Regions from separate parts of the Homo sapiens genome. Here region 2 is linked to region 1. The links are contacts of gene promoters, found by promoter capture Hi-C in human tissues and cell types (Jung and others, 2019). All regions are on one chromosome and are shown on one strand. Each heading gives the region's core, a stretch centred on a gene start or on the middle of the fragment in contact. The rest is flanking DNA. Distances are from core to core; before and after follow the strand shown.

Evidence for each region. Contacts are between HindIII fragments. The study calls those that stand out against the background at their distance.
Region 2: a fragment that was not itself captured here is called in contact with the fragment with the promoter of SMAD9 in region 1 in 2 of the 25 tissues and cell types used here (mesendoderm cells and spleen).

What each region holds. Positions count from the first base shown.
Region 1 is chr13:36,918,922-36,923,335 of GRCh38, reverse strand. SMAD9 (SMAD family member 9) reads left to right here and starts at 3,098. Exons shown (of 7, transcript NM_001127217.3): 1 at 3,098-3,220. It also overlaps the pseudogene LAMTOR3P1. RefSeq lists silencers at 2,958-3,007, 3,118-3,187. The HindIII fragment of the contact is 20,741 bases long and covers 1-4,414 here.
Region 2 is chr13:36,738,104-36,742,695 of GRCh38, reverse strand. The region is part of intron 3 of LOC102723490 (a long non-coding RNA gene); the gene reads left to right. It also overlaps the pseudogene GAPDHP34 and the pseudogene TCEAL4P1. Among named protein-coding and RNA genes, the nearest start is that of SERTM1, 66 kb to the right of the region's middle. The HindIII fragment of the contact is 6,034 bases long and covers 1-4,592 here.

The DNA.
Region 1 (4,414 bases), core at 1,849-4,348:
ATAATCTGAAGAAAAATATCTCATTATTATTCGCAATAAAAAATCTGCTTCATTCTGCAGGCCTGGGCAGATTGTACAATAGAGAGCACTTAATGGCTCAAATGGATCAATGTACCAGTTTGATTCTGATCCACGGAATAGAATCTCATCCATATTTGGTGGCTGGACTAACTCCATGGGTGCTGTGACAGACTGAACTATTTTTGTGGTATCCCCAGATCTCACTAAATAAGAAAAGACCCTACACCAGAAAATATAACAATCAATCCGTCCATAAATTTTATCTATATGCTTGCTCTTCAGTATAAGTTGGAAAAAGAGGCCCTTTCTTGAGGACATGGATAAAAGTATTATGGTCTAAAGATTGCTGGATCGATATTGTGTTGTTATAATAAAGATAAGGTACACATTGAAACCACTGTCTGATTAAGAAACTTCCACAACTTGTCTCAATTCTTCAAATAATGGAGTAAGTTTCTTTTCTAGGCTGACAATTAGTTCTGTATTGGCATTGCTGCTGGCTATGAAACTCACCACCAAAGGTAAATGATTTAACTGAATCACCAGGTAGGTGTAACAGTAACAGATGATACTTTTATTTTTTGAAAGTCCAAGTTTGCTCCCGTGGTCTGTTGCAAGGGCAAAAGTAGGTAAGAAACCAGGTCTCAAAGCATGCTCTGGAGCATTATCAATGGCCACTTTAATAACAGGTACTCCAACTCTGACACAACAATAGCATGGAGCCCTTCAACACTTTGTAACATTTGATACATGAATCGCTTTAGGTCATCCGCCATGATGAACCCCCTTCTCTTGCAGGATCAATCTCCTTGCCTGGGGTTTCTGGGCTGCCCGGTTCTCTCCACTGTCACTTCAGGAACAGCTTCAAAGACCACAGTCTGGTTTTATGCTGGGTATATGGCAAATGCAAAGAATTGGCTCTCTCTTGGGGTAAGGAAGCTGCCCTTCCTACCACTGTTTTATAGCCTGAGGGAGTTCGTGTTAGGCCAAGACCTTATCATCTTTCAGAAAACAGATTTCAGTTTTGCCGTGGTTTTGAGGTCCTGAACCAAAATTTCACTGGCGGTTCTACCAAATCACAACCTCTGAGTCTCTCCTTTCATATGATTCCCATAACAGAATGTTTTGGTGGAAGTTCTATTAAGCAGTAAAACCACAGCCAATCAAGAAATCACTGGGAAAGATAAAGCGAAGTCTAGCTTTCCATTAACCAGGACAGTCAGCTTCTGTAAAATGGAGTGTCAACACTGCGCCTTCTGTCTTAGGCCAAGCATTTTCTCCTTCTTGGAACTCACCAGATCTTATTGTTCTTGAGCGTAATGGATTAACTTTCTATACTAGCCTTGAGGAATACATGATAGGAATTATATCAGTGACAGACTAATGTTTAGGCAGGAAAAAGTCATCATCGTGCAGAAATATCCTGGTATGTAAATGAGAACGTACAGAAAAGAGCAGACTAGACATACTCTAAATCAAAGGCCTGCCAAGAGTCAAGAGAATTCTGCGAACTGAGAAAGACTCCATGCCAGAAGCATGAGCCAGCGCTGCAGAGGTTATAATTTCTTTCTCTGCATCTTGTCCTCTGCATTATGCTCATATACGAGAAGGAAACTGAGATAGTGATTGGGCCATTTCTTTTCTTAATTTAATTTTTAAAAACTTGAGCCACAAGGTATCAATTCTGAGGACCTAATTAGTTTACTGGCAATAAAGTCCACATCCAGCCTAATCCTTAATATATAATCTGTAGCCCTTACCGGTCCCGCTGTTTCCTGGTGTTTCTCACCCAGGACAATCTCAAACCCAACACATAGCCGGGTGCAGAGGTATCTGGGCCAGTGTAGAAAGAAGACTTTGAGGTTAAGGCATGGTATTTAAGGTTCTGCTGCAAATGTTGTTTTAAACAAATCACCGTTCAACTACAACGGTATAATAATGCAAAAATAGCATCTGCCATGAAGAAAGTGCAGTGCTTTGAGAACTAGAAAAAGCAGTTAAATTTAAGGCCTTGCTTTACATTTCGGAGCCGCCATCGGGGCCAACTGGAGGTATGACTTTCCTGCACACAGGAGCAAGCTGAAAACTGCCCTGTGGCTTTATTCCACGTTCACCCCTGCAGCAAATGCCTTTTCTGTGAGGAACTACGGGCTGATGGGGAATCAGAGGTGGTTCTTCCTAAGTGGCGTTTCTGAGTGGGTTCCAGGAGTCCACAGTGACTTTAAGAGGCAGGCTACCTGGGGGACAGCCAGGCCGTGAGACGAGAAAGTTGTACAGTAACATTGCTGTGTGCCCATAAGTTTGTATCTTTTATTAGATTAGATAATATATCTCACATGCTGGGTTGTTAAGCAAATAAATATGTGTAAGGAAATTACAATCCACATAATTACATGAGTCGTTTTAACCACCACTCACCCCCAGAGTGATTAGATTTTCTTCTGCCTATGCCATTGCGGCCCAGTTGCTCTGTCACTGTCCATGGGGACAGGATCCCCTTACTCCGAAAAGCAAATCAGGAACAAACAGGGCAAGTGAGAGTCACTATCAGGGCCCAGAAACATGTGAGGAACAGCAGCTCAGAAGGGTCTCCAGACTGATGGGCCGGTGATCCTATATTCTTGTTGGGCTGACAACTCTTCTGGTTTCGGGCTCCAGGTGCTGGCAAGAAATCTCAGAGGTGGGGTGGGAGAGAGAGACGCGAGGCGACCCACGCAGACAAAGGGCTCCCACCCCACCCCCGGGCCACCCCGGCAGGCCGGGCAGGGGCCGAGCCTGGGGTCGCGCAGGGGGACCGAGAGGGCAGCGCGGGGCTGGGGGTGGGGAAGAGGCGGGAACCGAGCCGCAGGCCGCTGCGAGGAGTACTACCCCGCCACCCCCGCGCCGCGAGTTTCCGCGCACGTGGCCGTGGGGCCGGTCTCGCTCCCGCCCCCCGCCGGGCCCGCGCAGCCCCCTCCTCTGCGGCTCCCGGAGCGGCCAGAGCGCGCGGCGGCGGGCGGGGGCGGGCCGCAAGCAGGGCTCCCTGGCCGCTTTCCAGGTCGGCGCACTAATACGGGCGATGAGGCTTCGCGGCTCCAGTCTGACTGACGCCGGCTGGGGCCGCCGCCGCCGCCGCCGCCGCCGCCGCTGCTGCAGCCGCTGTCTCGGTCCCCGCCGCCGCCGCCGGGCCCTGCAGGCGCTGGGCGCGCGCAGCCAGGCAGTGAGTGCGCGGCGCTCGGAGCGGGCGGCCGGGGGACCACGGCGGGGGCGGGGTTGGGGGCGCCGGACCTGGGTGGGGGAGGGATGAGTGGCACGGCGGGGACAGGTAAGACGTGCCCTCCTCGGCCGCGCGCTGCTTGTGTGCGTGCGTGTGAGCGCATTGAGTGGAGGGCGAAGTTGTTCGTCCTCGGGGCAGCCTGGGAGGCTCCTCGGCGTGAGGCTTGGCTTTTGGCGGTCGTTGTTCCCGGGTTTTTTGGTGGAGCCTGTCTGGGGTGGAGTGGGGTGGGGTGGGGTGGGCGCGGGGCCGGAGGGGACTGCTCTGGGGAGTTGGCCGCGGCGCAGCTCGCCTTCCTCGCGCCTGCATCCGCCCGCGCCGCGGGCCCCGGGACCTGTCAGGGGATGTTCGACCCGCGGCGGGGGCGGCGGTCGGGTCGGGGCTGGGGCCCGGGGCGTGGGCAGGGACCAGGATAGGCGCCTGAGGGGTCGCTTGCTGTAGCTGGAGATAGGGGACAGCGGACAGAGGGGGCGGCGGGGGTCGTCATTGTGACTCTTTGGGGGCCACTTTTAAACTCGCCAGCGCCGAATTGGCCTCACTTGCCTTCTGTTTCGTAGGCTTTTTGCTTTGTTTACCTTTGAGGCATGCGAACTGAGAAAAAAAGTTAGGAATGTTGTTGAAGTGTCTCCGGGCTCGCGCTTGGACTGTGTCGGAGCCGGGGTGTTTGTCTTTTCCTTGGCCCGCCCCTCGGTGCCAGCTCTCCGCAGAGGGGAGGGGGCGAGGTGGGAAGCAGATACAGGAGACTGCCTGACGCCAGCTTTGTGATCGGAAGGAGGAGCGCTGGGAGAACATTTTTATGGATGGCTAATCGCTGACAAGTTTTCCCGTTACTATTCCTTCCTCCTCCTGCCCTTGACCGTGGACATTTGAAGTGATAGTTTGGAAATACTACGTTGACTTATTTCTGGGCTGGAGTGGGTACTCCTGAGAACTAACCTACAAAGGATACAAATCGAGTTTGGAGATAAAATTGTATGTAAATTCTTTACCCAGTAGTTTACAGTGAGAAACACACCCACAGGGCACTGTGGAGTGCTTTGGATGGATCCAGTTTACTAGTACCATTTCGGTGGCTTGCCAGATTTCTCGGATGATCTTTTGGAAATGTAGGTTAGCAAGAAGCATGGAGGCTGACCGTTA
Region 2 (4,592 bases), core at 1,544-4,043, 180 kb after region 1:
TGTTGTGAGAACTCACTATCACAAAAACAACAAGGGGGAATCTGCCCCCATGATCCAATCACCTCCCACTAGGTCCCTCCTTCAACGTTGGGGAATACATTTGGATGTGAGATTTGGATGGGGACACAAATCCAAACCATATCACTAATGGTGGCTCCAGGTGCTTTCTGGTCCATATATCTATTGTTCCCACACATGGGTAGGCTAGACAGAAAGGCAGAACCTGTCCCCAATCCCCACAGATAAGGAAAGAGAGAGGAAGCCTCAACATGGAAAAACTCTACCATGACAATGAAGGAAAGCCTGTGAACCAAGGAAAGGGAAAATGAAGAACAAGCACAGGAGGAAGGAAACCTGGAAGCAGCTTGTACCCTGGAAAACCAGGAAAAATTAGAAAATGATGGAAAGATAGAAAACAAGAGAAAGGCGGAAGATGAGGAAAATGCTAAAGAATAAGGAGAAGCCAGAGAGCAAAGGAAAGCCAAAAGGAGGAGAGTCAGAGGGGGAAACAAAGGCTGCAGGGAAGCCCCCCACTGAGGACATTGTACCCAGGAAAGCCAAAAGAAAGCCAACCGGGGGCTGGCTCATGCCTCAAGGAATATAAGAAGGCCATACATGATATGCATTTGAGCAATGGGAAGATGATCAGAGAATTTGATGAGATGGCTAGGGTGGAGGATGAGGTGAAAAAAATCAGACAAATATTGGGGGTAGGCCTTATGTCGGTGTAAAGAAGTTTATAGAACCCCTTCCACCTGAAAAACCCAAGAGAACTCAGCATGGCTGTGAGGTCCTACAAAGGGGAATTGAGGACACTTCTTACGCATCTGCCCCTGACAGGCATTTACCAGGCCCTGTGCTTAACCTTCTGCCAATACTTTGCTTTAAGTCACCCTTCTGTTACCACAGCCTTTGGGCACAACTGCAATGCTCTATGGTTGGGCACAACTGCAATGCTCTGTGGTTCAGTATCAGATTTTCGTCCATTGCATGGAAGAAATGGTGCATTGTAAAATTAAGAAACACAATTTGAAGAACCATTAAAAAAAGAAATGAGAATGGAAAATGAAAGAACTCATAAATGATGGCCTTGGTTTTCTCACGAAAGTAGAGGAAGAAATAATTAATTTTGGCAGGAAGATATTTTTGGGGGAGGTGGAGAAATAGGGCCGAGAAAACACTGGAGAAAAAGTGACATTTGGGTCATGTCTCTCAGGTAGCATCATGTGTTTAGCTATTTCACAACCAACAATCATCAGTGATTTACTTATCCGTGGGTAATTACATGCTACTAACTTCTTATTATCAAGGCCTTTCTCCACTACCCCATTTTCAAGATTATCTATCATTTATCAGGCTTGCCAGTATGAGAGAAAGAACATTAGAACAAGGGCAACAGTAGTCACCAACGCAGAGTTGATAAAATACAGCAAATAGCCCAGTATGGCTGATATATATGGTGCTGGGTTGGATAAGTGGTTAGTGGTGAGGACAGAAGACCTGAGATTAACTAGGAAGGGATAGGCCATACTAGAGAGCTCAGAAGTGATTCTCAGTGGGGAGCTCATGTAGATTTCCCTCATCTGAGTGTAGAGTATGGTATTAATGGTCCTGATGGTACACGACAAGGTAGGGTTTTTCAGGGGCTTGGAGTGGAAACTGTGTTGAGGATGGGAGTTTCTCAGTGTATTGGGGGGTGGAGGCAAGGCAAAGACTTCCCAGTGATGGAATCTCTCTCTCTTTGTACCTCAAGGCTATTGGACTTGTTTCAATAGCCTTGAAACAAGGCTATCTTACTCCTCGGGAGACCTGATTACTATAATCAAATTCATACTAAAAAGCTTAACAAAGTGGTCATTGAGGGTGAAGCCAGGCCCTGCATCCACAGCGTTACACTATTAGAGTCATGGGAGACAATCTAGTCTTCAATGTTGCTCAGGAGGCTCTTCGGAAGCCCCCATCACCTGCTTCACCACATTCTTGATGTCATTGTACTTGGCAATGTTCTCAAGGTGGCAAGTCAGATTCATGACAGTCTTGGCCGTGCCAGTGATGGTGAGGATGCTGCTCTGGGCAGCACGATGACCACTGCACCATGGTTTGCCAGAAGGACCATCCACAGTCTGTGAGTGGCACTGATGGCATTGTTTATAACAGTGAGGTCCTCCCTGCTGGGAGAGTTCCATGGATGTTCTTGGGGAGGAGGGCTGCACAGTTGGTGGTTCAGGTGTTGTTGCTGATAGTCTTGAGGGAATGCTTATGTTTCTCATGGTTCACTCTCCTTGCACACATGGGGGAATCAGCAGAAGAAGCAGCGATGAGGACTTTTGTGACTTCACCTTTAAGTGAACCCCAATCTTCTTGAAGATAGTGATGACACCAGGGGCCCCCATACCAACATCACCCCATTGGAGGTTGGTGGGACCTGTTTCCTGGAAGATAGAAATGGGCTTCCCACTGATGATGAGCGTCCCATTCCTATCCTTAAAGATTCCATTGAACTTGACATAGTGGAATCAACTTGGAACATGAGGACCATGTAGTTGAAAACAATGAAGGGATCATTGGTGGCAATAATGTTCATTTTGCCAGTGTTGAAAGGAGCCCTGTAACCAGACACCTAATACTGCCAAATCTATTGACTTCAACCTTTACAATGGTGTTACATGAATGCGGCTGGCACTGCACAAAAAGCTGCAACTGTCTGTCCAGTGGAGAGTAGCAGAAAGTGCAGTGGGGAGTTATTGTCCCAATTTATAGAAAGGGGTTGAGGCCTAAGAGACATTTTACATTTAGTATACATAGGACACAACTAATATATTCTGTGAAATTATTCATGAGAGTGACATCCCTGGCATGTAATGGATGAGAAGGAAACTTGCCTAGAAGGGCAGGAGTGGGGTTGGGCTTGTGGCTGAAGCATGGGAGTATAATGTTATCACCTGGGAAGACTGGTATGGTCAAGGGCCTATCCTTGACTTTAGGATAGGCCTGTGGAAACCCTGAGAGCACCAGCCAGAACCAGGTCACCATCCAACCCTTCTGTCCTACAACCCTTCCTTCTTCCTGGTCCCATTACTCCCCAAAGCTGCCCACCCCCAACCGAAATGCCCTGACTTAAATTCAAGGGGCTTTCTTTGCTGCATCCCTCCTGCGCTTTATACCTTGGGAATATAGCTGTCGGCCTTGATCCTCCCTGGTCATCGCCTGGTTGAGAACAAACATGTCTCAATAGCAACCTAATTATTATGTAGGTAAGTCAAGAGATACTTTTGAGAATTTAAAGGGGTATAAATGATGGAGGTGGTAGTTTCCTCCATGGCCTTTCTCACAAACTAGAGATAATGAGGTTCTATAGATTACACTTCCTCATGTATTTGACGAGGAAGTAAAGACTTGCTAATGTCTAGCATTTACCGTTATCGCTTTGAATTCACACACTATCCTTTTGCTTTAAGTTTAAAACACTCTGTATGACATTTTCTCAGTTTTGAAACCAGACTCTTAACTCTCAAGGAATTTTGTTAGGTTGCAATAAGATTTGTACTTTGCATTCTAAGTTGAATGAGAAGTGGTGCAGAAAGAGAACATGTTCACATCCAGTCATTTAAAAAATTAATCTTGGGCATAATCCTTCTAAACAAGCATCCCAGTACAACACTTAAATGCTATCCAAACCTTAGATAAAACAAAATATGATTTTGATCAGTCATAATGAATTAGTAAAATGTCAGTCTGTGTTATTTTCAAATGAGATAGGAAATGCATAATGGCTGGTAAATTGCCTTTCATTAGAAAACCACAGAATAAAACTGTAAGCTTTTTCTAAGTATTTATTTCTGAATTTACATAGTTTTGATATATTTACCAACCATGCTTATGCTTCCTGAGTTATTAAATAGATAAGCTGCTTTACAGAATGAACCAAACTATAAACCAATTAAACTTTACTAAGGGGCAAAATTCCCTGCATTTTTCTATGTTTTTGAGTTTCATGGCTGTGTGACTATCCCACTCTCCCCATCCTATCAACCTTCATTTATTGAAGATTTTGCCATCTAATTCACAGAAGGCCTGGCTTCCAGAACTCCTGCCATAATTATAGATAGTATTAATATTCTGGTGAAGAATCCATCCAGACTTTAACTTGGTCTCCTTAACGTTTCACTTTTACTTCTATTCTACATGAGCTATCCATCCTCAACTTCATTCTCACCAAGAACAACTTCATTTCTGAAGTTGCAAAGGTCAATATGAAAATAACCTGTGACCACAGCCTTTTGGTTCTCCAGCTTTTACCCACCATGCCCAGCGAGTCCTTTGGTTCCCAAGCTCCCATTCCCCTCATTGCTTCGCTTCCTTCTATTCCATCCCTGGCTAGAAACGAGGGAGCATCTCTCAAACTGTTCTCCTGCCTGGGCCTTCATTTCTGCCAGTGGTATCACCCTGCTGTGTTCTGACCATGGTTAATGTAAAACTGGCCTTTTCTGTCCCTTGAAGCAGGTACTGAATGTTGTTGGAGGAAATCACAGGTCGTTGTCACCACATACTTTTGGTCTCCAATCTCAGTGAAATGCTCAAAGCTATCCTTT